Regions from separate parts of the Homo sapiens genome. Here regions 1, 2, 3, 4, 6 and 7 are each linked to region 5. Evidence: promoter capture Hi-C in 16 types of primary human blood cells and fetal thymus (Javierre and others, 2016). All regions are on one chromosome and are shown on one strand. Each heading gives the region's core, a stretch centred on a gene start or on the middle of the fragment in contact. The rest is flanking DNA. Distances are from core to core; before and after follow the strand shown.

Region 1 (3,280 bases), core at 1-2,500, 380 kb after region 5:
ACAGCCTGGGTGACAGAGCGAGATTCCGTCTCAAAAAAAAAAAAAAAAACAAAAAAAAAAAGTTACTAGATGTTTTAAAAATAACAGCAACCAATTATTGAACACTAGTAAACACTAAGCTAAGTGGTTAGCTTGTGCAATTTGAATAACCATCTTATGAAAGAAGTTATCTCCATTTTACAGTTAAGTGAACTGAAGATTTGCTGTACAATCTGACCACTTTTTCCTGAGTTAAGGGGTGGGAGACCCGGCTAGTACCTACTTTTGTCTAACTCCAAAATCTAAGCGTCTACCCGCTACCAACTCCTGAAACTAAGGAATCACATGTTAGGAACTTCACAAATAAATTTTTAAAACACAAAACTATAATTTCAATAGTGTGCACTTGTCTGTTGGCATAAGTTCTTAATCAGGAATAGAATTAATATCCTATAATACCTGCTGTAGTAGATTTTCCGACTCCACCCTTTCCAGAAGCCACAACTATAACTTGTTTAACACCTTCTATCGGTTTCTGCTTTGGAAGTCCTCGGGACATGATTTGTGTTCTTCTTTGTTTTAGGGTCTCACTCCCGGCGCCAGACAACTTTAAAAAATAATAATAATAAAAAGCCGTTTTAAATAAGCCATCTCCATCATCACACTGTAAAAGCAAAAACAATCTGGGGTTTGCAATTAAGAGGGCTTTCTTTTCTAATTCTGCTCATCTTCACTATGGAGACATTTACCTACTACTACTGATAACAATTGTAAAGACACATTGCTTAAATTGAAATTTTTCTAGCAGGATACGCTGAACGTTTAAAAATGTAAAAACGCTGCCTCTTTACGGAGATAAGGCTTCCACGTGTTTTGCTTTTCTTCAATCTATTTGATAAATAACCCAAAGCCAAGAAAGCAATGTAGAATACCACATCTACGTTCTAACTGTGTTTCAAGTCCCGCCACGCCTCAGCCTGGGCCTGCCTGAAAAGTAGGCACGTCCAGCACACTGGGGGTCTCAGGAACTGAGGCGAGTCTTTGGCAAGAAGCAATGCCAGGGCATCTGCGGCCCTGCAGCCCAGCATCTGTCAGCCCGCTTCCCCCTGCCCTGCAGCACCACGGACCTGGCGCCCACAAACCATCGCTCGGCTTCCCCCAAGCGGGGCAGTGGCCCCGCCACCAGCCCGGAGCGACACCCCACCAAAAAGCAGCAGACGCTGCCAAATCCCCATGACGCGGAACGCTGCTGTGAGCCCTGCTGGGAAACTGTCGCGGGTGGCGCGGAGTGATGACGTCACGGAGCAACGCTCGGCTTTCTCTTCCTAGCAACCGGTCTTCTTTGGGTTTGTTGGCTCAGGAACCCAATCTGCATGATCTTGTTTATAGCCAGCTACAAACATTTTGCAGCGTTTTACTAAACGTTTGTGAAGTGTTGTCATATAAAACATCTCTTATGATACTTACAGAAGTCCCGAGGTAGACAGAAGACTTACCTAGTATACTCTTTTTATGGACAAGAAAACGGAGAAAGTTTAAAGAGACTTGACCCAGCTTAACAAAAGTAGGAAATGGGGGACCTTGAAAATGACCCCAGGATTTCTTACTAAGCAGTATATGGTCATTTAAATACTACCACCGTTAAGGATTTTACCTTTTTATTTTATTTTTTCCCGTGTGATCTACAGTGAGAGTCTGTTTTGCGTTGGTATTCATGGCTTGTGTTGCTGACAGTTCCCTGAAAGAAAGGTCAGGTTGCTTTACCAGCAACCTGGTAAAGAACTTTGCAAGTTCTTCCAGACTTAAGACTCATTTATTTAACAAATATTCGTTGAGCAACTACTATGTACCGAGTACTACAGTAGACTTAAAATATTCAGCATTGAGACCGACATAATTCCTCCACTAAAGGGCTTTATAATCCAGTGCAAAAGACAGAATAAGTTAACAACAAAATTGCGGTATAATATGATAAGTACAGGAGAAAAGCATTGAGGGATACAGGAGAAAGGACAAAGTGATACAAAGAAAGGGCACTCAATTCAATCAGGGGAAGCTTCTAAATTAGGTAATATCTAAGCTGAATGCTGAATCTGAATAATGTGTAGAAGTTAGCTGGGAGAATGGCAAGGAGATTGTTGTAAAGAGGTTAGAAATGGACTGCTAAGGCTAGGCATGGTGGCTCACGCGTGTAATTCCAACACTTTGGGAGGCCAAAGCAAGAGGATTGCTTGAGCCAGGAGTTCAAGGATGCAGTGAGCTATGATTGCACCACTGCACTCCAGCGTGGGCAGCAGAGTGACACCTTGTCAGAAGAAGAAGAAAGAAGGAAGGAGGAAGGAGGAAGAGGAAATTAAAAGGAGAAGAAAGAAGAAGGAAGAAGAAAGAAGAAGAGAGTAGAAGGAAGAAAGATGAAAGAAGAGAGAAAAGCCCCCGCCCGGCCAGCTGCCCCGTCCGGGAGGGACGTGGGGGGCAGCCCCCATCCGGTCAGCCGCCCCGTCCCGGAGGGAGGTGGGGGGCAGACCCCGCCCGGCCGCCACCCCGTCCGGGAGGTGGAGTCACCTCTGCCCGGCCACCCCGTCTGGGAAGTGAGGGGCCCCTCTGCCCAGCCGCCACCCTGTCTAGGAGGTGTACCCAACAGCTCATTGAGAACGGGCCATGATGACGATGGCGGTTTTGTCGAATAGAAAAGGGGGAAATGTGGGGAAAGGAAAGAGAGATCAGATTGTTACTGTGTCTGTGTAGAAAGAAGTAGACATAGGAGACTCCATTTTGTTCTGTACTAAGAAAAATTATTCTGCCTTGGGATGCTGTTAATCTATAACCTTACCCCCAACCCCGTGCTCTCTGAAACATGTGCTGTGTCCACTCAGGGTTAAATGGATTAAGGGCGGTGCAAGATGTGCTTTGTTAAACAGATGCTTGAAGGCAGCATGCTCGTTAAGAGTCATCACCACTCCCTAATCTCAAGTACCCAGGGACACAAACACTGCGGAAGGCCGCAGGGTCCTCTGCCTAGGAAAACCAGAGACCCTTGTTCACATGTTTATCTGCTGACCTTCCCTCCACTATTGTCCTATGACCCTGCCAAATCCCCCGCTCCGAGAAATACCCAAGAATGATCAATAAATACTAAAAAATAAAAATAAAAAAATAAAAAAGATATCAAAAATAAAAATAAAAAAAGAAAGAAGAGAGAAAAGAAGAGAGAACACAAGAGGAGTAGAAAATACATTTCTTTTCTGGATTGTTAAGAACTGTAAATGATCTGTGCAACTTAGGACAAAGTGACTAAAAGAGA
Region 2 (3,266 bases), core at 581-3,080, 360 kb before region 5:
GTTTTTTGAGCAACCAGCAAAATAAGTATTACCATTCCCATCTAAGATTTAAAAAATTATAAAATTAAATAATTTGCAGCTAGTTACAGGAAGATGGTAAGCTTTTTCAGGCTCCAAGGGGTGGGCTCTTTCAAGTCTGGTAGCCATCTCAAAACTAGCCTGTTCCTTTCTATTACCTAATTTTATCTTTGCCACACTCTCTTAGGTAAATAGAGTGGACAGTATCATATGAAAGTTGAACATATAGGCTCTGGAGCCAGGCAACCTAGGATCCGAAGGCAGCTCTATCATTCATTAGCTATATGACACTGGGTAAGTTACTTAACTCAGGGCTCACCTCCTTCACTATAAAATAAAGAGGATGATAAGAGCACCTGTATCAAAGGCTTTCTGGAGGATTAAATGAGCTAATACATAGGAAGTACCTGGCACATGGCTAAGTAGCTGTTATTGTCATCCCAGTGATGGATAAAAAAACTAAATCAGTGAAGAATCTAGACCACAAATCAAGTTTGTTGTTTCTCAGCCATTTTTCCACTAGGTCATATGGCTGTACTGATATGACATGTTAGTGTTTTTCTTCTAAAATAAAAGACAACAAATTATATTTCCACAAACTCAAATATTCCTAACACTGAGCCCTTAGTCAAAATGATTATATTTCTACCACCCTACAAAGTTCAAATACCCAATATGTTTTAATGCTAATGACTTAATCTCTAACCATAAAAAAATAGGTCCCTGATTGCCCCTTTTCTCCCCCTCCGCTGCCAGCATCACTCAGTAAAAGAAGGAGCCTTCTGGTCCTCCTGGCCCAGCCACAGCTTCCACAGTCAAGGATACTTTCAGGCCTCAGCACCCTACTTCCTGCCCTGCTACACATTTGAACATGTGGCTGTTACAGAAATCCTACTTTCCTCACATCCAGCTTCCATTTTCTTTACTAAATGGTGGAGTTTTCATTTGGTGATCTTTCCAACGATTCCTGGTAGACTTCTGAACAAACCCACCATGGGCAAACATTTCCTCTTAGTGAAACTCCTTGTCATCCTGACACTGATTATTGTTTTTCCTTATTGTAGCCCTTGATGATGGCAAAGTAACACTCACCCCTCTCTTCTATTGTGACTTAGGGACCAGAATGACTAGTCCTTGAATTAAAAAAAATTTTTTTAAAGAACCACTGGGAATTATTGACAGTACCTATTCTCCCCCCTTTTCCTCCCTCACTCTCAAATCAGGCCTCTGACCCACATTTTCACATACACAATGGTGTTTGTACCAGCCTGGGGATGCCAATTCCATGCCCAATCTTGCTCCCCCCATATGGCAGAAAGGGCTGCCACCATGGGACAGCTGCTGAGCTGTGCTAAATCCTGTATGGAGTACTTGTGGCCCAGAGGGTGTCACCTCCAAGATGTTCAGGGCTCCATCTCTCCCTCCCTGTCTGCCTATTATGCTTGGAAGCAGGCGTGCAGCATAATCACCCCTGTCTCTCCTGGATCCCTGAGGGGAGCCTCCTCCTCAGGGTGGAACGTCTGTCATATGGCCACTAGGCATCTGGTTTTAAGCAGATTTTTGTTGAGAGGTGAAATGGTGCCAGTATTGTACTGTTTCCCTTCCCTGTGGACATTTGTCAGAGTAAATGACAAGAGTAGATTAGCCCATTAAGGATCTGAGTCCCACCGGCTAAAATTTTGATTATTTATATAAAGGATCTTAAGCTTCATGTACTAGGGATCCCTTCCAGTGTTAAAGTGTAGGGGGGCTTGAGTTGTCTTTCAGAGTTTATATTCTTGTCTGGGTGCCCCTACAGTCACATATTTTGCAACCTATAGTTGGTTTCATTTTCTTCCTTACAACTACTCTGTGTCCTTGTTACTGATGTGGAAACATTTTGTACTTCAGACTCAGGTTGATGAACATTGAAGCTTTCAGGCTAAATCAGCAAGAGGCTGAGAAACAGGTCAAAAAGGTCATCTCTTCACTCAGCATCAGAAAGTGCTGGAACTGGAGGACTGACAAAGCAGTATGGTTGGGGACAGATACAAAAGCAGAAACCAAAAGCCTAGAAAAAAGTAACATTGTCCAATGATATGAAGAAAGAAAGGAGAGAAGGAAGGGATAGAAGGGAGCAAAAAGAACGTCCATTGTCGTGTTTGCTCAAAAAAAAAAAAAAAAAAAAGAATGGTGAGAGAGGGAGAGGGAAGAAGAAATGAACATTTACTAAGCGTCTACTGTGTACCTTATAGTACACAAAACCTTACAAGATGATTCCATGTATGTTTAATCCCCACTAGGACCTAGTAAGAAAGATGGCACCCCATTTTTACAGAAAAGTAACTTGCCTGGAATTGCTTAATTTTGCTAACAAATATGATATAGGACCTAAATTCAAGTGTGGTCTATATAAAATCTCATTCTTTTAAACGAATCACTTTCTAAGTCTAAATGATTGTTCATCCTAAGCCACTGAAAAAAATGAATATAACTATGGATACATAACATGTTAACATTTAGAGGAAGCTGAGTGACGGGTTTTTTGGAACTCTCTGTACTAGCTTTGCAAATCTTCTGTAAATCTAAAATTATTTCAAAATAAATAGTTTTTCTTTTAATGAAGTAACTGCACTTCACAGAGCACATGTAGCCCACACAAGGAGCTGGTGATATTGTGGATTGAAAGTCCAGTGACTTAAGGATCAATAAACAAACATTATATAATTTACTCACTGTCCTTTTGACCTCAGATGCTAATAAGCCCAAATGTTTTTTCTCACTAAGATTTAAAATAAATGTTTTAAAAACTGCTCTCAACCTTAAGATATTTCCCAACTAAACCTGCTAATGTTGCTAATTTAAGCATAGTATGAAAAACTGTAATTATTTACAATGCCACATGCATATAATGATTATACCTCACTGCTTTGAGATATATGCCCAGGGGCCAGGTACAGTGGCTCATGCCTGTAATCCCAGCAATTTGGGAGGCTGAGGTGGGTGGATCACCTGAGGTTAGGAGTTCAAGACCAGCCTGGCCAACATGGTGAAACCCTGTCTCTACTAAAAACTGCAAAAATTAGCCAGGCACAGTGGTGCGCGCCTATAGTCCCAGCTACTCGGGAAGCTGAGGCAGGAGAATCGCTTGAACTCAAGAGGCAGAGGCTCCAGTAAGCCAAGATCATGCCACTGCATTCCAGCCTGGGCAACAAAGAGAGACATCACAAAAAAAAAAAAAAAAAAAAGAGAGAGAGACAGAGATATGC
Region 3 (3,275 bases), core at 123-2,622, 450 kb after region 5:
AGGCCTCACCCAGGTCCCACACAATCCAAAGGGCCATTCTCATTCCCACTGTGCCATCCCTAACAGCCACGAGTCTGTTTCCAGGCAGTGAGCAAGCAGGGCTTGAGAACTTGCCCCAGGCTACCCGCCTCCCAGCTGCAAAAGAAAAGGGTTTGGTTCCTCCCTCACCTGTGGAGTCTGGATGCCGGATTCACACCCTCGCCAGAGTTCTGGCCAGGAGGCTTCTTGCCCAGGTCAAATTGTTACAAAGTTTAGCTGGAGACTTCCTTCTCCCTGTGGCATCCCCCACCCCACTCCCCCACACCTCTGGCTGCCCTCCCAAAAGGATCCCTGTGGGGCCAGGCAGGAAAGGCCTGCTTGGGGACCCAGCAAGTTCCCAGGACCTTTCCTGTTCCTCTGCTGCATAATTCACTTGCCTCTCTAAATTGCCTCAGCTCCTGGTAAGGTGTGAAACTTCCCACAAACTAGACGTTCATTTTCCCTAGTGGGGTTGTGTGTTCTGGAGAGGAGGGTCTCCCTTTCCCACTTCTGCAGTTTGGGCACTCACAGTATTTGGGGTGTCTCCTGGGTCCTGCAGGAGCAGTCTGCTTCCTTCAGAGGGTCTGTGGGTCCTCTTGGGATTCCTGCTTTGTTCCTGCAGTCGTTCTGGAGCTAAAATTCATGATGTGAGCCTCCACACACTGCTCTGTCCGTCCGAGTTAGAGCTGCAATCTAGTCCTGTCTCCCATCTGCCATGATGATCTCACATTTCTATGTTTTAATATTCTGCATAGCACTGTAGTGCTTGCTGATGTTTCTCTTCTTTCTGTGTTTATTTACTGTTTTTGTTTTGTTTTGTTTTTTTGTTTTTGAGATGGAATTTCACTCTTGTTGCCCAGGCTGGAGGGCAACGGCGTGATCTCGGCTCATGGCAACCTCTGCCTCACGGGTTCAAACGATTCTCCTGCCTCAGCCTCTCGAGTAGCTGGGATTACAACACCCAGTTAATTTTTTTTTTTTTTTTGTATTTTTAGTAAAGATGGGGTTTCATTATGTTGGCCAGGCTGGTCTTGAACTCCTGACCTCAGGCGATCCACCCTCCTCAGCCCCCAAAGTGCTGGGATTACAGGCATGAGCCACCGTATCTGCCTCTATTTACTGGTTTAATGCTCACTTCTCCCCACTAGAATGTAAGCTCCATAAGAATACAGCTCTTATCACTGTCTCTCCCCAGTGGCAAGAATAGTGCTTCAAATACAATAAATACTTGGTAAACATTGCATGAATGAAATCTCAGGAACACCTTGTATGTTTTTAAAGATTTCCAGGTGAGTGTGACTTCAGCCAGGCTAGAAAGCACTGGAGTGACACCTGCATTGTCACTGTCACTATGCTGGAATATGGAGGGTGGTGAGAAGTGACCTTGAAAAGTACAGAACCAGGCCAGAAAAATGAAGCATTGCTCTCTTCAGCTTTGCCTTTAAGCATACTGTTTCCAAGACCCAGAATATGCCCTCCCCAACATCCCTAAGCTATTGAGTTCAGGTATCACCTTTAATAACTACAAACATTAAGGGCAATTATTTTGAAGTACTTACTTTATTTTCCCCAGTCTCAAATACTGTCTTACATGCAATAGATACTCAATGAATGTTTCTTGAATTGCATTGCTCAGAGATTTGCTCCAGCCCACTGGACTTGCAGGTGTTCTCTACTACAACTTACATAATATTAATGTTAGCTGAGGAGAGCAAAGATCACCTGGTGGTCAGCAAGCAGACCATCTGGAGGCAAAACTCCTTATCTGAGGAATTCAGAAGTAATTAGATGTCCTTCCTATCTAAAGCTGGCATCTGGTACCAGGCTTCTTTCCCAAAAACTTATAAGTAACTAGAATTTCTATAGATCTTCAGACTGCATGCGTGTCAAAACTCACTGTGCAATTCTTACTGATGTCACAGCACCAAAATGTCTACAAATGTAATCATTTATCATTACCTGTGTGACTAATATGGTCCAAATTATCCTTAAGCTCCTGCTTGAAGGTCCATAAATACCCCTAAGGAAAATCCACTGCAGCTCCCTCAGTCCTCTCTTGCCGAAGCGCCCGCCCATTGCACTCTGCCACAGTGTTCTTTCCATCTAATACAACTTTCCTTTTCAAACCTATACTTTTGTTGGTAAATTCTTTTTACCACCTTCAAGCCGATCACTCTCTGTGGCAAGGCTCTGACACCCCACCTGGCATTAGCTATCATATATTTAATACATATCATGTGCCAGGTACTGTGCTAAACCCTTACCTATAGGGGTTTGGGCCACAATCCCAAATGTTGAAATCCTAAAAGATCAAAATTCTGAAAAAAAAAATTCTAAAAAAAATTTTTTAAGTTCTTTAAAGGCATTTACATTTTTAAAAGATTTATTTGAGAAACATATTGGCCAGGTGAAGTGGCTCATGCCTATAATCCCAGCATTTCGGGAGGCCAAGGCAGGAGAATCACTTGAGCCCAGGAGTTCAATATCAGCCTGGGCAAGATAGTGAAACCTCGTCTCTACAAAAAATAAAAAAATAGCCCACTGCAGTGGCATACGCCTGTAGTCCCAGTGACTTGGGGAGGCTGAAGTGGGAAGATCACTTAAGCCTGGGAGGTCAAGACTGCAGTCAGTCGTGATCACTCCACCACACTCCAGCCTGGATGATAGAGAGAGACATTGTCTCTTAAAAACAGCATCAACAACAAAACAAAGTAACAAAAACAACAGAACACTTTATAGGCCACTTTACACAATAAAATAGGCAATAATAACATACATATTTTTGCAAGCATAAACAAGTATACTAAGGACAGTCATCCAGGCACAACATTTATAAGCAGACAAATCATATTCATAAATAACTTACACAACTGCAGTCATCTGAAATACTTATAGAATGGGAGTTAGATGAATTTAACTCCTTGGTCTCTTCCAACTCTAAAAATTATATGCATCTATGAGTTACTAGCCTTTCACACATTTGGTTCAGCAGTACCATCTGCTTCTGCATTTCTGCTTCAAACAGTGGTTATATCAAAACAACATAAAACTGTTTCCATTTCCATAAGTTCTTTTTTGAAATCATCTGACTTGATTTGAAATATGAAAAGTGAACTGAAAGAAGCCACATTACTAAAGCCACAGAAGAGAATTACTTCCTCAAATACACTCTGTGTATTTCCTAACATTGTTAATATCATTGGTTTAATCACCTATGGGAGGAAAATACTCACTATTAAGGGTATTTCTGAGGAGAG
Region 4 (3,158 bases), core at 489-2,988, 430 kb after region 5:
GAAGAAGTCCATTTTTTTGTAGGAGAGAAGAGATCAACACACAGAGGAAAGCAAAGGAGATATGTGAAAGGGAGAGAGAGGAAAAAGGGAAAGGGAGAAAGAGGTCAGACCTAAAAGTGTTACTGATGCTACTTCGTGAAGCCTGAATTCAACCCCTCTACCTCCCCCAGTACATGGACCAGTGAATTCCCTTTTTTCTTTAAACCAGCTTAGGTTTTTTGTTATTTGCAATCAAGAGTACCAACTCAGTGCCCCATCCCCACTAATTGTAGTGACAATATTCATTATTGTGGAGAATAACTATGCATATATGTTACTATTAGGTTTTCCTTTGATTTCATGCAGCAGAAATATGACTACAGTTGCTTAACCAAACACATATTAATTTATTCATGTAACAAGAATTCCAGAGAAAGGAGACCAGAGCTGGTGCAGATGTTCAAGAAAGTCACAAGCTCCTTCTGGCTTCCTTTTCCACCACTTTAACTTGTAGCTTTCATCCTCAAAGTTGCAAGAAGGCTGCTCTACCTGCAGTCAGAAAGAAGAGCGGAAAAGAGGAAAAAGTGTGTGCCAGCAGAGCATGTTCCTTTTATGTAATAAAACAAAAGTGTGTCTCATAGCGGAACCCTGTAACCATCATAGACCACATCTCGGTCATATGGACGTACCTAGATGCAAGGGAGTCTGAGGAAATGAGGCTTTTATAACAAGTCACATTCCCACTTAAAAAAAAAAAAGTCTTTGATTAATGAAGGTGAGAATGAATACTAGGTAGGCAAATGTATGGTCAAAGTCAATGGCCTTACAAATTGGTATAATATTTGTGAAAAACAATTTAGACTTACTATATAGACTTCATACCTGGTGATTTAATAATACCAGTTCTAGGAATTTGTTCTTAAATAATTCAAACTGTGAGAAGACTGTAATAAAGATATTTATATTGATGATCTTAAAAACAGAAAAAATCGGCTGGGCGTGGTGGCTCATGCCTGTAATCCCAGCACTTTGGGAGGCAGAGGTGGGTGTATCACCTGAGATACGGAGTTCGAGACCAGCCTGGCCAATATGGTGGAACCCCATCTCTACTGAAAATACGAAAATTAGCTGGGCGTGGTGGTGGGCGCCTGTAATCCCAGCTACTTGGGAATTGAGGCAGAAGAATCACTTGAACGTGGGAGGCAGAGGTTGCAGTGAGCCGAGTTCGCACCATTGCATTCCAGCCTGGGTGAAAAGGGTGAAACTCTGTCTCAAAAAAAAAAAAGAAAAAAAGAAAAAGAAAAAATCTGCATAATCTAAATATCCAAAAATAAGGAAATGATTATAAAAATTATATGTTTGCAGACTATGTATTGTACAGCCATTAAAAATTATAATTCTTAAGATTATGAAACAAATGGGGAAATGTTTATGATATAATGTTTGGGTTGGTTGGTTGGTTGGTTGTTGTTGTTGTTGTTTTTTGGAACAGAGTCTCGCTCTGTCACCCAGGCTGGACAGGCTGGAGTGCAGTGGCATGATCTTGGCTCACTGTGAACTCCATCTCCTGGGCTCAAGCTATCCCTTCCACCTCAGCCTCCCAAAGTGTTATGATTACAGGCATGAGCCACTGTATCTGACCTGTGATATCATGTTAAAGAAAAGAATTGACAGCATGATTTTTCATAAACTAATATTTTATATACATCAAATACCACAAAGGGAAAAGTTACTGAAAGAAAATACACTAGATGCTAACAGTGGTTGTATTAGGCTGTTGGGGTTATAATTTATTTTTCCACTTTCCTCCAAGTTACAGTTTTAATTGTTTTCTTTAATAATAAATTAATAAAGTAAACATTGATTTTAAATAAATTAGTTTTATCAGTATATATTCATTGAAGTAGTTCTGGGATTTATTCACTATAGATTTATGCTACTCTAGTATTTTTTCCATTGTTTAGCAGAGCACTGGGATTAAAATGACACCTAATAAATATTTGTTGGTAGATTATTAGATGCTTTCTTTTAAACAGTATTAAGAAACAGCAGCAATAGGATGCATGAATGGATAGATAAATGGATCGATTGGTAGATCAATAGATAGATTTATTACAGGGAATTCACCCAAGTGATTATGGAGGCTGGCAAATTTAAAATCTGCAAAGCTGATGTCTCAGTTTAAGTCCAAACAGGAGCACGTTGCTGGAGAACCAGGAAAAGCCCATGTCCTAGTTCAAAGGTCTCAAGCAGGAGAATTCTCTTTTACTTGGAGGAGGGTCCGTTTTTTTTGGTCTATTCAGGCTTTCAACTGAATAGGCCCACCCACATTATGGAAGGCAATCTGCTTTACTTAGTCTATAGATTTAAATGTCAATCTTGGGTCGGGCACCATGGCTCATGCCTGTAATCCCAGCATTTTGGGAGGCCCAGGTGGGTGGATCACTTCAGGCCAGGAATTCAAGACCAGCCTGGCCAACATGGTGAAACCTCCTCTCGACTAAAAACACAAAAATTAGCCAGGCATGGTGGTACACGCCTGTAATCCCAGCTACTTGGGAGCCTGAGGCAGGAGAATCGCTTGAACCCAGGAGGCAGAGGTTGCAGTGAGCTGAGATCACGCCGCTGCACTCCAGCCTCAGCAAAAGAGCGAGACTCTGTCTCAAAAAAAATAAAATAAATAAATAAATAAATGTTGATCTTGGGCCAGGTTCAGTGGCTCATACCTGTAATCCCAGCACTTTGGGAGGCTAAGGCGGGTGGATCACTTGAGCTCAGGAGTTTGAGACCAGCCTCGGCAACATGGCAAAAACCCGTCTCTACAAAAAATACCAAAATTAGCCAGTTGTGGTGGTGCAAGCCTGTAGTCCCAGCTACTCTGGGGGCTACGCAGAAGGATGGCTTGAACCCGGGATGTAGAGGCTGGAGTGAGCCGTGATGGCGCCTCTGCACTCCAACCTGGGCGACAGAATGGGACTCTGTCTCTAAATAAATGTGTGTGTGTATGTTAATCTTATCCAAAAACTTTCCATAGAAATAGCCCAAAAAAAATTTGACCAAATATCTGGGTACCCTGTGGCCCAGACACATAAAATTAACCATCACAAACAGTCACAGGTGAAACTAAATTTATGTCACATGTTGGATTAGATTTAAATCTTTTTAAATCACCAGGTCTT
Region 5 (3,276 bases), core at 719-3,218:
TGACTCACCCTTGTGCCCTGTATTATATTCTCACTGGACAGAGCTGATCTGTAGCCCCAGACTGTTTCAGACCATGCCTTACCCCACCAACCAGGGTCCAGCTGCTGGGGCTCAGCTCTATCCTAGCTTGGGTCTCTGCACAGTGGCAGCTTTGGTGACCAATATACTCTGTAACTGCTGTAATTTAGGGGTGTCCCTGACTCTGAAGCCAACTGCAGAGGTTGAGAATAAGAAATAACTACATTTTCATGCATTCACTCACATTTCTCCTCCCAACCCACCACTCTAACTGTCTTTCTTTTAGCACAACTGTTGTAAATACATGATCCCCAGAACAGCAGCATCGCATCACCTGGGAACTCATTAGAAATGCAGATTACCAGGTACCATCCAGAAACTCTGAATCAGAAACTGTGCCCAGCAATCTATGCTTTAACAAGACCCTCCCCACGAGGACATTATTCTGATGAATTCTAATGTTTGAGAACCAGGGTCTTAGGGCACTGTTTCTGAAACTTTGTAGTGTATTAAAATCATGTGGGGTGCTTTAAAAAATTCCAATGCCCAGGCCACACCCCAGGTCAAGTAAATCAGGTTCTGTGGGGGTAGAACCCAGGCATCGGATGGATGTTTGGAAAACTCTCCACTGATTCCAATGTGCAGTCACAGTTGAGCCCCATTGCCTAAGGGTAAAGAACTCAAGAATATTAGTCGGCCATTTTCCCTATGGTGGAGAGCCTGTAGCTTTGAGCCCCGTAGAGAGAAGCCTTCCTGTGGGAGGAGAAAACAGTGTGTAAAATGAAGAAAGGGGCCAAACTGGGCATGCCTAAGCTTCGAAGGCCTCTTTCATTATAGGCTAGCTGCTGTAATGAAACAGGCAATTGCACCTGAGATTTTTCTGAAGTTGAAATGACCACGTGGAAAGGGAACAGCTTCTCTCCACAGTCCATCAAGAGGGGAGTGGCCAATGGGCCGCTTGGAGGACAAAGACCAGGGACACGCCCATTATCTGAGGCTTCAGGTATATTAAAATGAAGAAATCCCCAAATAGGGTTTCAAAAATTGTGATATACTATATTTTAGAAGTTTACATTTAATAAATTAAGGCTTTAACACGTGTAAGCTTTAAAAAAAAAACGCACAGGGTAATATAACCATCCTATTCACGGGATAATGGCAGGATTAATCTTAAAAATTCATGGGCCTGGTACCAAAATCAGGCATAAGTTTAAAGCTGATGATCATTTCCATCTTTTCAGTCTTATTAGCATATCTTCAGAGATAAATTTTTAAAAATCCAAATGTGAAGTCTCTGTGAGTGTGAGATCCCTGGATGAAAGGCCCTCCTTTGCCATGCCCCTGGGGCAGACTAAGAGGACCGCTGGAAAGAGATCCTAAGTGTGGCCCTGGAGCAGCTGTGAATGATTAGGTTGTGGGAAGACAACTGACATCTGGGTGCCTTGCGGCAGCCTGACCAGGGAGGTGGTGTCAGGGAAGCCAGAGCACCCCCCTTCCTCAGTGTGTTCCAGAGCAGTACAATACCTGCCTCCCTACACATAATGGATGCCTGCCCACCACCCTCTGTCCTCAGGCACACTTGGCTGCTGACAACAGGAAGTGAAACAGCCACACCCTCCTTTGACCCTATTAAGGTAACTCCTAGTTTGATACAGAGGCTTCCGGGGAGGGAAAGAAATAAGGGAGACACTTACCTTGTGCAGCACCTGCAGTGCTGTTGGTTTATAAAAGCACGAAATCTTCTGTCCCAGAGGCTGGACTGGGCTCATGACTGCATGTGAGATTGTGCTTTGGGAAGAGAAAGCAATCCCAGACTGAACAACAATTTTCTGGTGGCAGGTGCATCCATGAGGAGCTGCAGTCGGTCCCAGCAGCATATGCTTTCTCCTCTGGGAGGGCAACTCGGAGACGTGCAGACTAACGGGACCACTGGCTGCAAGCCTCAGAAACCTCTCAGGAGGTCCCTGGCAAGGCCTGTGGTATCTGGGCAGTGCAGGCAGCCTGGGCACCATAGGACAAAGGGGCGGGGAGTGGGGCAGGGAAGAAACAGCACAGAGGAAACAGCACACCTTGTTCTCATTGACTCGGAGTCAATGGCTGCCCACAGACTCTATTTCCTGGAGATTCAAGCCTCACACTGTCCTGTCCTCTCCCCTGAGTAAGTCTTCCAGAGAGTAAGAGCCACACCCAGGCAGAGGTGGGTGAGGCTGGGGTTCAAAGTACAGAGCCAGCCCTTTTATCTCATAGGCAGAGGAAATCATCCACTGTAAACCCACAGCGTCCTCCACCAGGGCAGCGTTTGATTCCTCCGTCTCATATCTCCGCTTGCCTTCCCTGTGGGTCAGTAGTTCCTGAGTTTCTCTAGCCTATAGAAAACATGAGGAGGAGGAGGAGAGATGGAGGGGGAGGAGGAGGAGAAGAGAAGGGAAGAATGAGCACATGGACTGCCCAGCCCCAGCCCCATGGCACCAGCATGGTAAACACTTGGAGGGAGGCCAGCCGTCTGGCGCCTCCAGTCTTCCACATCACCCCAGCCAAGATTCAGACCTGTATATTCTGGGCTCTTTCTGCCCCATTTCACCCAGGCTTTAAATTACCCAGACTTGGGTCTGGGTTATTCTATCCAAAACTTTCCTCTGAAATCTAGATTGTGATGCAATGTATACGTTCTCTAAATCAGATTTCTGAGGACTAAATGCCAGACCGCGTGGCGTAGCAGTCTGGCTGCAAACCATTTCCGTCAGCCCAGCGGAGGAACGCACAACAAGGTGCTCATCCCCGCAGCCGTGCACAGGAGACAGCAACGGTCCAGGTAAATTAGAAAGGCCTAACTTGAGCCAGCTAGTCATGGCAATTTAGGGAAAGTAAGGACTACACAGAGGCTCTGGGACGGCTTGCGGAATCAATGCCTAAGTTGCTGGATTGCTCCTTCTTTGGCTATGGAGCTAGTGGTTCCAAAATCTACCCCTTGATTCCTTAAGATGGAAGACCATTTAGACAAGCTGAGCCAAAACCCAGAGTCTTGGAACAAGCCTGTAACAATAATAGCAGCAGTAATGACAATGATTTTTAATATTCCTTGCTTAACAAGTGCTGGCCACAGTTCATGTTTTACATGGATTTACTTGGGGAATTTGATCGCTGGATCGAGGTGAGGACCATCCTCACTCCTCAGCTCCCCGGAGGACAGTCCCTTCCCCTCTGCTAGTCCTTTGACACAGACCCATTTTGACTTTTCAACTTCAACATTCTAGTTCA
Region 6 (3,399 bases), core at 779-3,278, 510 kb before region 5:
AAGGTCGGCAGATTGCTTGAGCTCAGGAGTTTGAGACCAGCCTGGGCAACAAGGCAAAAGCCCATCTCTACAAAACATATAGAAAAATTAGCCAAGCATGGTGACCTGGGTGTGGTGGTGCATGCTTGTAGTCCCAGCTAGGAAGCTGAGGTGGGAGGATTGCTGGAGCCCCAGAGGTGAAGGCTGCAGTGAGCCGTGATTGCACCACTGGACTCCAGCCTGGGCAACAGAGCAATACCATGTCTCAAAAAAAAAAAAAAAAAAAAAAAAAAAATGTAAAGAAAAGAAAAAGAAAAAGAAAAATGATAGCATAGAGTTATAGTTGGTAAAGTAGAAATATGGCCACAACTTACCTTTGATTTGGAGAAAAGGGGTGGAGGAAGTAGGGTTAAGACATCAATCAGCACTATCCAATAGAATTCTATACAATTTGGAAATCTTTGCTGTCCAGTACAGTTGCCACTAACTACTATTAAAAGGTGGCTAGTGTGACTAAGAAATTGCATTTTTTTCAGTTTTATTTCATTATAATTTATTTAAATTTAAATAGCCACATGTAACTAGTGGCTACCATATTGGGCAATGCAGTCAACATAGATATTTTATGTGTTATTTTATAATAAAAAATATTAAATGTTTTGTTTAAACAACAACAAAAACAACCAACTTGTGTCTAGGAGACAACTAGAAGATACAGAAATAAATTAGTCAACGACAGCTTTATCTAAAAAGCTGCAATGCCTGCAATATTAGGCCCAAGTGCACATTTTATACACATAGTTTCTGTACTTTGGCATAACTATGCTAATTTGGCAAGTTTCCTAGATACTAGTCCACATACTAGGAAATAAATAGCTGTATACAAATAAAGCTATATCTTTTGTGCAAACTCTGCAGAACAGGCCAGAAAGAAAAATAAATGGAAGGAAGCAGAAAATGGGAACTGGAACATTGAAAGTAGGATCAGGTTTTTTAAAAAAGGATAATAAATTATTCAACTCACTAAGTGAATATGTAGTAATTAGGAAGCTCATGTTTTCTTCTTATGAGTTTTGATTATATCAAAATTACTGAAGCAACAAAATATCTTATTTTCTTGTATACCAGCCAGTATAAAATTTAGTCTTGATGAATCATGCAAACTAGCTAAAGGCTAATCTGACTTTCAGACCTGCACAAAGTAGGAGACATGTTTGTTTGTTCATAAGTATTTCCAAATTCCAATCCACTTGCAAATATAAAGCAATAGAGTAAACTAATTTTTTCCACTACCAGATATTAGATAGATAAAACATAATAATAAAGCCACTTTCCTCGTTTTGTTATTTTCAACATTTTACTATTATAAATGATATAGTAAACATATTCACATAGAAGGGATTTTTTCTATATTGGGATTTAAAGAAGCTTTCTTAAAGACCAAATTGGCCCAAATTGTAGCATTCTTAACAGTAAAACTATAACTAACCAAGGCCCTCAATTAATTCGATTCCTCCCTCCTTCTACTTTTTAGAAGGAAAAAAAGAAACCTCAAGAAAAGATATTGAAGCAAGGAGCAAACTTGCAGTATAAATCTCTTAATACATCCAAATCTGTTACTCTTACGTGAAAATGATATTATAACTGATGACTTCAAAAACTTCAGTATCATTAATCCTGAGAAAGCTTTAGGTATGTTCAGTACTATGCACTTGATTTTTGAAAGAGAAAGTATACTAATACACAATAAAAATATAGTACAATGGAGAGTCAAACTTATTTTTATCTCATTGTGTTAACTAAAAATTTCAAACAAAATATGCCCTGCCCCTTGCAGGCCTTGTTAAGTGAGGCTATATTTCCTATATTTCATTGTGTTTTAATGACCAAAACCAAATTATAGAAGAGTGTATTTTGATTGGTAGCATATATAAGTTGCCACAAATCAATCCCTCTCCCTCTCCCTCTCTCTCTCTCTCTCTCACACACACACACATCCCAGCTCACCCTACCACAGTCACAAAATCAGCAAGCAGTATTTGGATTGGGATAGAATCATAATCAGAACTACTAACATTTCATGTAGCATCAGAAATTTCAAAATTCTTCTAAAGAATGATCTTGATTTTTACAACAATCTTCAGAGGTGAATATTTACAGCTAAGGAAATTCAGGTTCATAGAAATTACTAAATTGCCTGGTGTCCAACTTCTAGTAAGTAGCAGAAACAGGAGCAGAACTAGGCCTGCCATCTCCAAATCCTGGGGGCTTTCCACTCTGCCTCACTCCTGGAACCAGCCAGCAGGCAAGAAGGAGGCACGAGGGTAGGCATGACAACTGACTATCACTAATTTGAAGAACTCCCATTCCAGCCATTAAAAGCTGGCTGACACTAAAGAGGCATCAAGCTTTTATTGCTCTCAGTGTGCTTCTGAAATCTCTGAGGCAGTTTGAACTAAATTAACCACTATCAAGAAAAGGGGCCAGGACATCTCAATATGCCCTATAAATTCTGGAAGACAGCCCCAATCTAGTTTCAAGAATACCTTCCACTATTTTAGCAGTTACTACCTACTTGCTTGGAATCTAATTTGTTCTACTTAAATTAGATTATCAGTCCTCAGGCCATATGACTCAAAGTAAAAACTGGCAGTTGATTGGCAGGGCCTCTTTCTGAAGCATTTCCCTTCCCTCTTTATGGGACCAGAGCTGTCTTCTCCATCAAAAAATCTTTTCTAAGAAAGTATTTATTCTTTTCCTTTTTCTTTTTTTTTTTTTTTTTTTTGAGATGGAGTCTAGCTCCATTGCCCAGGCTGGAGTGCAGTGGCACTATCTTGGCTCACTGCAACCTCTGCCTCCTGGGTTCAAGCGATTCTCCTGCCTCAGCCTCCTGAGTGGCTGGGATTAGAGGCGTGCACCTCCATGCCTGCCTAATTTTTTGTTTGTTTGTTTTGTATTTTTAGAAAAGACAGGATTTTACCACATTGGCAAGGCTGGTCTCAAACTCCTGATCTCAAGTAATACACTCACCTCGGCCTCCCAAAGTGCTGGGGTTACAGGCATGAGTCACTGCACCAGCCTGGTATTTATTCTTGATGTAAATGGAAGTGAATGCATTACTTCTCCCAATGACATTAATTTTTAATGCCTAACTTCTAATTATAGAAAGCCTTTGTAGAGGGTAAAGGAAATTCGGACATTGTAGAGCAGACTGGAGAGTTAATTTGTCAGGGTGATGATCTCTCCTGCAATCTCATCTTCTACCTGGGAATGAGAGCTTCCCCAAAGTTGCTGATGCTCATGTATGTGAGGAAACCTAATGCAAACAAGAATCCAGGTATCTATCTTTTACTAAACATTGTAGAATCAAGATTGTAGAATCAAGTATGCATTGCTAATATCTCCCTTTAGAATAATATC
Region 7 (3,681 bases), core at 45-2,544, 490 kb after region 5:
AAAGAAACCCTCTCTGTAGAAAGATCTCTGCGAACCACATAACCTATTCTCTATAGACCTCCCTATTTCCTGCAGCCACATACAAATGGACACCAAAGTCTTTTCTTATTCTGGGACATAGCTAATGGTTTGTATGTCAAAGTTTCTTTCAGGCCTGTAAAATCTGAATCTGAGAGCCGGAGAGAAAAGAGACTCAGTAGTTATAATGACATAAAGGTGCAGACATGAAGCAATTCAACTTGTCTGTGCTTTGCAGACAAATGTCAACAACTGTTGGAATCCCTGCAATGCAACAATCAGAGATCATGTGAGATTTTGCTTTCTGTTTTTACTAAAAGTGTAAACCTGGCTGCAAGATAACCAGCAAACAAGCAGCTTCGATTTTGTGTACAAAGGACTGTTGATTATGCATGGACTATTTTCTTCAGTCACACTACTTTGTATGGATAGCAACACTGTCAGTGATGTCATCTTTTTAAACAACAGATCCGAATGTATAGGCACATTGTGTCAACTGAGCCCAAATCAATGACCTGGGTAATGCAATCAGGGTAACACTATTATTCCTCATCTAAACCATCCAAGCCCATAGACAAATAAATGCTAATCTGATGCATGTTTAAGGAATACGTTACATGGGAAAGAAAATCAAGCCCTTGTTTAGTTTTATTTACATTCTAATATGTACTTCCAGAAAATGCATCACAGAATTTACGTCATATGCATCAGAATAAGCTGTTTTATTTTTGTATTAGTAGCGGGCTAAGTTATTAACAATCATACTTTCTTGGATAAGAACATTTTTAACAAGGATATCTTCTAAAGAATGTGTATTCGTATAGCATACCAATACCTTTTCACAACTGTGGAATCAGAATAATTTATGGCATTCCCGATAGAGGAGGCAGCATTGTTTTTATTGATTGGAATAAGGAAAATTTTGAAGGATGTATATATAGCTTTTAGTTCCATCTCCGCTTGCTTTATGATTCGATTATTTGTTTACTTACTTTCATATGGGCATAACATGAATTTAAATCAAGCAGATTTAAAATTTTTCAACAGTTGGAACCTAAGCTTTCTGAGGTGAAAAATGTTTCTTAAAAGGTTTGTAGGAAAGAGATTTAACGAGTCTTTTCAATCGTTTAATAAAAGTATACACTGAGCGCCTTCTACAGAGTTGGGCAGGTGCTGCCGAGAAGCTTAGCGCTACGCCGGCCTCCAAGACCGCACATCCGGGACATTCGAGAGTCAGTCCGAGGCCCCGCCCTCCTAAGGGCGGGGCCACTGGGCAATCGGCGCAGGCCCTTCGTCGTGCCCCGCCTCGTCTGCCCCGCCAGCGCGTCGAGGGAGGGGCCAGCGACACATGGCCTAGTAACTGTCCGGCCGCGGCGCTGGCTTAAGCCATGGCTGAGGGTAGCCGGATTCCTCAGGCCCGGGCGCTCCTACAGCAGTGCCTGCACGCCCGGCTGCAAATTCGCCCAGCCGATGGGGACGTCGCGGCCCAGTGGGTGGAGGTAACGTCAGCCCGGCAGCTCTCGTTATCCTCCGGCGTGCGGGGCGGTTTTTTCCGCGTTGTCTCGGTGACTCGTCCGCTCTGTGTCTCCCTCTGAGACCGGCGGTCCGGCCGCGGGGATACCGGGTCAGCTTGAAGCTGGCCGCGGTGGCCTGCCTGGCTGCGCTTGTCTTTTCGGTCCAGCATCACCGTTCCCCAGCGCCAGTTGTAGCACCCGAGAGGAAGAGCGTGTCTCCCTTCTTGGGGGGACCACAGGTATTTGAAACTGAGTTCGGTGAACTTCAGGCCTTACTGTCTCAGACCCCTTGCAGCTCGTGGTCTATGCTGGTCGGGGGCAAGCTTGTAGGTCAGGTTTGCTGCAAGAGTTCATGATCTGCTTTGACTTACGCCTCAGATCGCGTCGAATTCCCCCCTATGTTGACTTGGTCTTAGCATAGAAATGAGATTTCCTAAGAAACAATTCTATTTCAAGAAGCCTTTTAAAAGTTTTGACCAATTTCCAACTGAGAAACAAAGACCTCTACTTTTATAACAATGTTGCCTTATCAAACACATTTCTCCAAAGAATTTAAAACATTTATGTCACTATGAGTTCCTTCTACTTTCATACATACTTTACTTTTTAAGACCGCCTGCCCCCACTGCATACAAAAACAAATAAAATTTTCTTTAAGGCCTCTGACGTATTTTTGGAGTACGTTGAAATGTAAGAAAAAAATTAGTTCATAATTAAGACTTTTGTAGATACTCAGAAACTTCAGTGTAGCAAAATCTCATTCGCTCGCCTTTTCTGCTGAATTCGGTCCCAGATCTAGCATTACTTAAAACAATTTTAGTTATTATTTTACATTTATTTTATTTTTTATATTTTATTTATTTATATTTTATTTTATTTTTTGAGATGAATTCTCGATCTGTCGCCCAGGCTGGAGTGCAGTGGCACGATCTCGGCTCACTGCAACCTCCGCCTCCCGGGTTCAAGCAATTTTCCTTCCTCAGCCTCCCGAGTAGCTGGGACAACAGGCGCAAGCTACCACGCTAACTTGTATTTTTAGCAGAGACGGGGTTTCGCCATTTTGGCCAGGCTTGTCTGGAACTCCTGACCTCAGGTGATCCACCTGCCTCAGCCTCCCAAACTGCTGGGATTACAAGCCTGAGCCACCGCACCCCGCCTACTTATTGTAAATAGTACCCGTGAACTATATGATGTGTGGGTGATTATTCTAAAATCAGAATCTGTTGCCCTGTGCTAATTTGGAAATATAAGCATAGAAATTCCTGTATTCTTATCTCTCTCCTTTCCCAGAAATTCACTTTTCTTATTTCTTATTTTTGTCATGATTTTTTGTGAGGTCTTGATTTCCTTATTTGAAATTTTATTATTTTATTTTGCCATCCTATCTAAAGAATTAACCTGCCAGGCGCGGTAATCCCAGCACTTTGGGAGGCCAAGGCCGGCGGATCACTTGAGGTCAGGAGTTTGAGACCAGCCTGGCCAACATGTTGAAATCCCGTCTCTACTAAAAATACAAAAATTAGCCGGGCTTGGTGGCGGGCACCTGTAATCCCAGCTACTCGGGAGGCTGAGGCAGGAGAATCTCTTGAATCCGGGAGGCAGAGGTTGTAGTGAGCCAAGATCACGCCACTGCACTCCAGCCTGAGCCACAGAGTGAAACCTCATCTCAAAAATAAATAATAAATAAAATAATTATCCTTTTTTTTTTTTTTTTTTTGAGACAGAGTCTCACTCTGTCACCCAGGCTGGAGTGCAATGGCGCAATCTCGGCTCACTGCAACCTCCGCCTCCCGGGTTCACGCCATTCTCCTGCCTCAGCCTCCCAAGCAGCTGGGACCACAGGCGCCCACCACCACGCCTGGCTAATTTGTTGTATTTTTACTAGAGACGGAGTTTCACCGTGCTAGCCAGGATGGTCTCGATCTCCTGACCTTGTGGTCCGCCCACCTCGGCCTCCCAAAGTGCTGGTATTGCAGGCTTGAGCCACCGTGCCCGGCCGAATTATCCATTTTTATAGTTGCATCCAGACACTATAATTGCAAACTATCAGTCATTTAGTTTCCTTCCATGCTTATTTATCTTTTTTATGTTGTTCAGGCTACATCTCCTTATGCAAAATCACATGTATTTTATTGCTGGCATCCAAACT

Evidence for each region. The method cuts DNA at HindIII sites, captures the fragments that hold promoters and counts their contacts. A CHiCAGO score of 5 or more calls a contact.
Region 1: a contact is called between the fragment with the promoter of NUBPL here and the fragment with the promoter of LINC02313 in region 5, in 1 of 17 cell types (naive CD4 T cells). The highest score is 6.2, in naive CD4 T cells.
Region 2: a contact is called between a fragment that was not itself captured here and the fragment with the promoter of LINC02313 in region 5, in 1 of 17 cell types (total B cells). The highest score is 6.0, in total B cells.
Region 3: a contact is called between a fragment that was not itself captured here and the fragment with the promoter of LINC02313 in region 5, in 2 of 17 cell types (M1 macrophages and M0 macrophages). The highest score is 6.3, in M1 macrophages.
Region 4: a contact is called between a fragment that was not itself captured here and the fragment with the promoter of LINC02313 in region 5, in 3 of 17 cell types (endothelial precursors, megakaryocytes and M0 macrophages). The highest score is 5.3, in endothelial precursors.
Region 6: a fragment that was not itself captured here is called in contact with the fragment with the promoter of LINC02313 in region 5 in 1 of 17 cell types (erythroblasts); the score reaches 5.8 in erythroblasts.
Region 7: the fragment with the promoter of DTD2 here is called in contact with the fragment with the promoter of LINC02313 in region 5 in 4 of 17 cell types (naive CD4 T cells, non-activated CD4 T cells, activated CD4 T cells and 1 more); the score reaches 12.0 in naive CD4 T cells.

Annotation. Positions count from the first base shown.
Region 1 is chr14:31,559,374-31,562,653 of GRCh38, reverse strand. It overlaps NUBPL (NUBP iron-sulfur cluster assembly factor, mitochondrial), which reads right to left and starts at 1,250. Exons shown (of 11, transcript NM_025152.3): 1 at 1,107-1,250; 2 at 439-586. The coding sequence starts at 1,214. NUBPL-DT (NUBPL divergent transcript) reads left to right here and starts at 1,323. Exons shown (of 3, transcript XR_943720.2): 1 at 1,323-1,543. RefSeq lists enhancers at 526-1,081, 1,008-1,407. The HindIII fragment of the contact is 6,263 bases long and covers 1-2,037 here.
Region 2 is chr14:32,302,736-32,306,001 of GRCh38, reverse strand. No RefSeq gene overlaps it. Among named protein-coding and RNA genes, the nearest start is that of AKAP6, 25 kb to the left of the region's middle. The HindIII fragment of the contact is 207 bases long and covers 1,727-1,933 here.
Region 3 is chr14:31,489,713-31,492,987 of GRCh38, reverse strand. It overlaps LOC105370438 (a long non-coding RNA gene), which reads right to left and starts at 3,024. Exons shown (of 4, transcript XR_943723.3): 1 at 2,885-3,024. RefSeq lists an enhancer at 1-490. The HindIII fragment of the contact is 7,142 bases long and covers 1-3,275 here.
Region 4 is chr14:31,511,871-31,515,028 of GRCh38, reverse strand. The region is part of intron 1 of LOC105370438 (a long non-coding RNA gene); the gene reads right to left. Among named protein-coding and RNA genes, the nearest start is that of GPR33, 25 kb to the right of the region's middle. The HindIII fragment of the contact is 5,890 bases long and covers 1-3,158 here.
Region 5 is chr14:31,943,545-31,946,820 of GRCh38, reverse strand. LINC02313 (long intergenic non-protein coding RNA 2313) reads right to left here and starts at 1,968. Exons shown (of 2, transcript NR_146544.1): 1 at 1,713-1,968. RefSeq lists an enhancer at 1,487-2,686. The HindIII fragment of the contact is 3,310 bases long and covers 1,126-3,276 here.
Region 6 is chr14:32,448,887-32,452,285 of GRCh38, reverse strand. All of the region lies in intron 2 of AKAP6 (A-kinase anchoring protein 6), which reads right to left. Among named protein-coding and RNA genes, the nearest start is that of AKAP6, 120 kb to the right of the region's middle. The HindIII fragment of the contact is 722 bases long and covers 1,668-2,389 here.
Region 7 is chr14:31,455,119-31,458,799 of GRCh38, reverse strand. It overlaps DTD2 (D-aminoacyl-tRNA deacylase 2), which reads left to right and starts at 1,294. Exons shown (of 3, transcript NM_080664.3): 1 at 1,294-1,517. The coding sequence starts at 1,407. RefSeq lists enhancers at 1,130-1,309, 1,450-1,659, 1,104-1,689, 1,690-2,275. The HindIII fragment of the contact is 653 bases long and covers 1,205-1,857 here.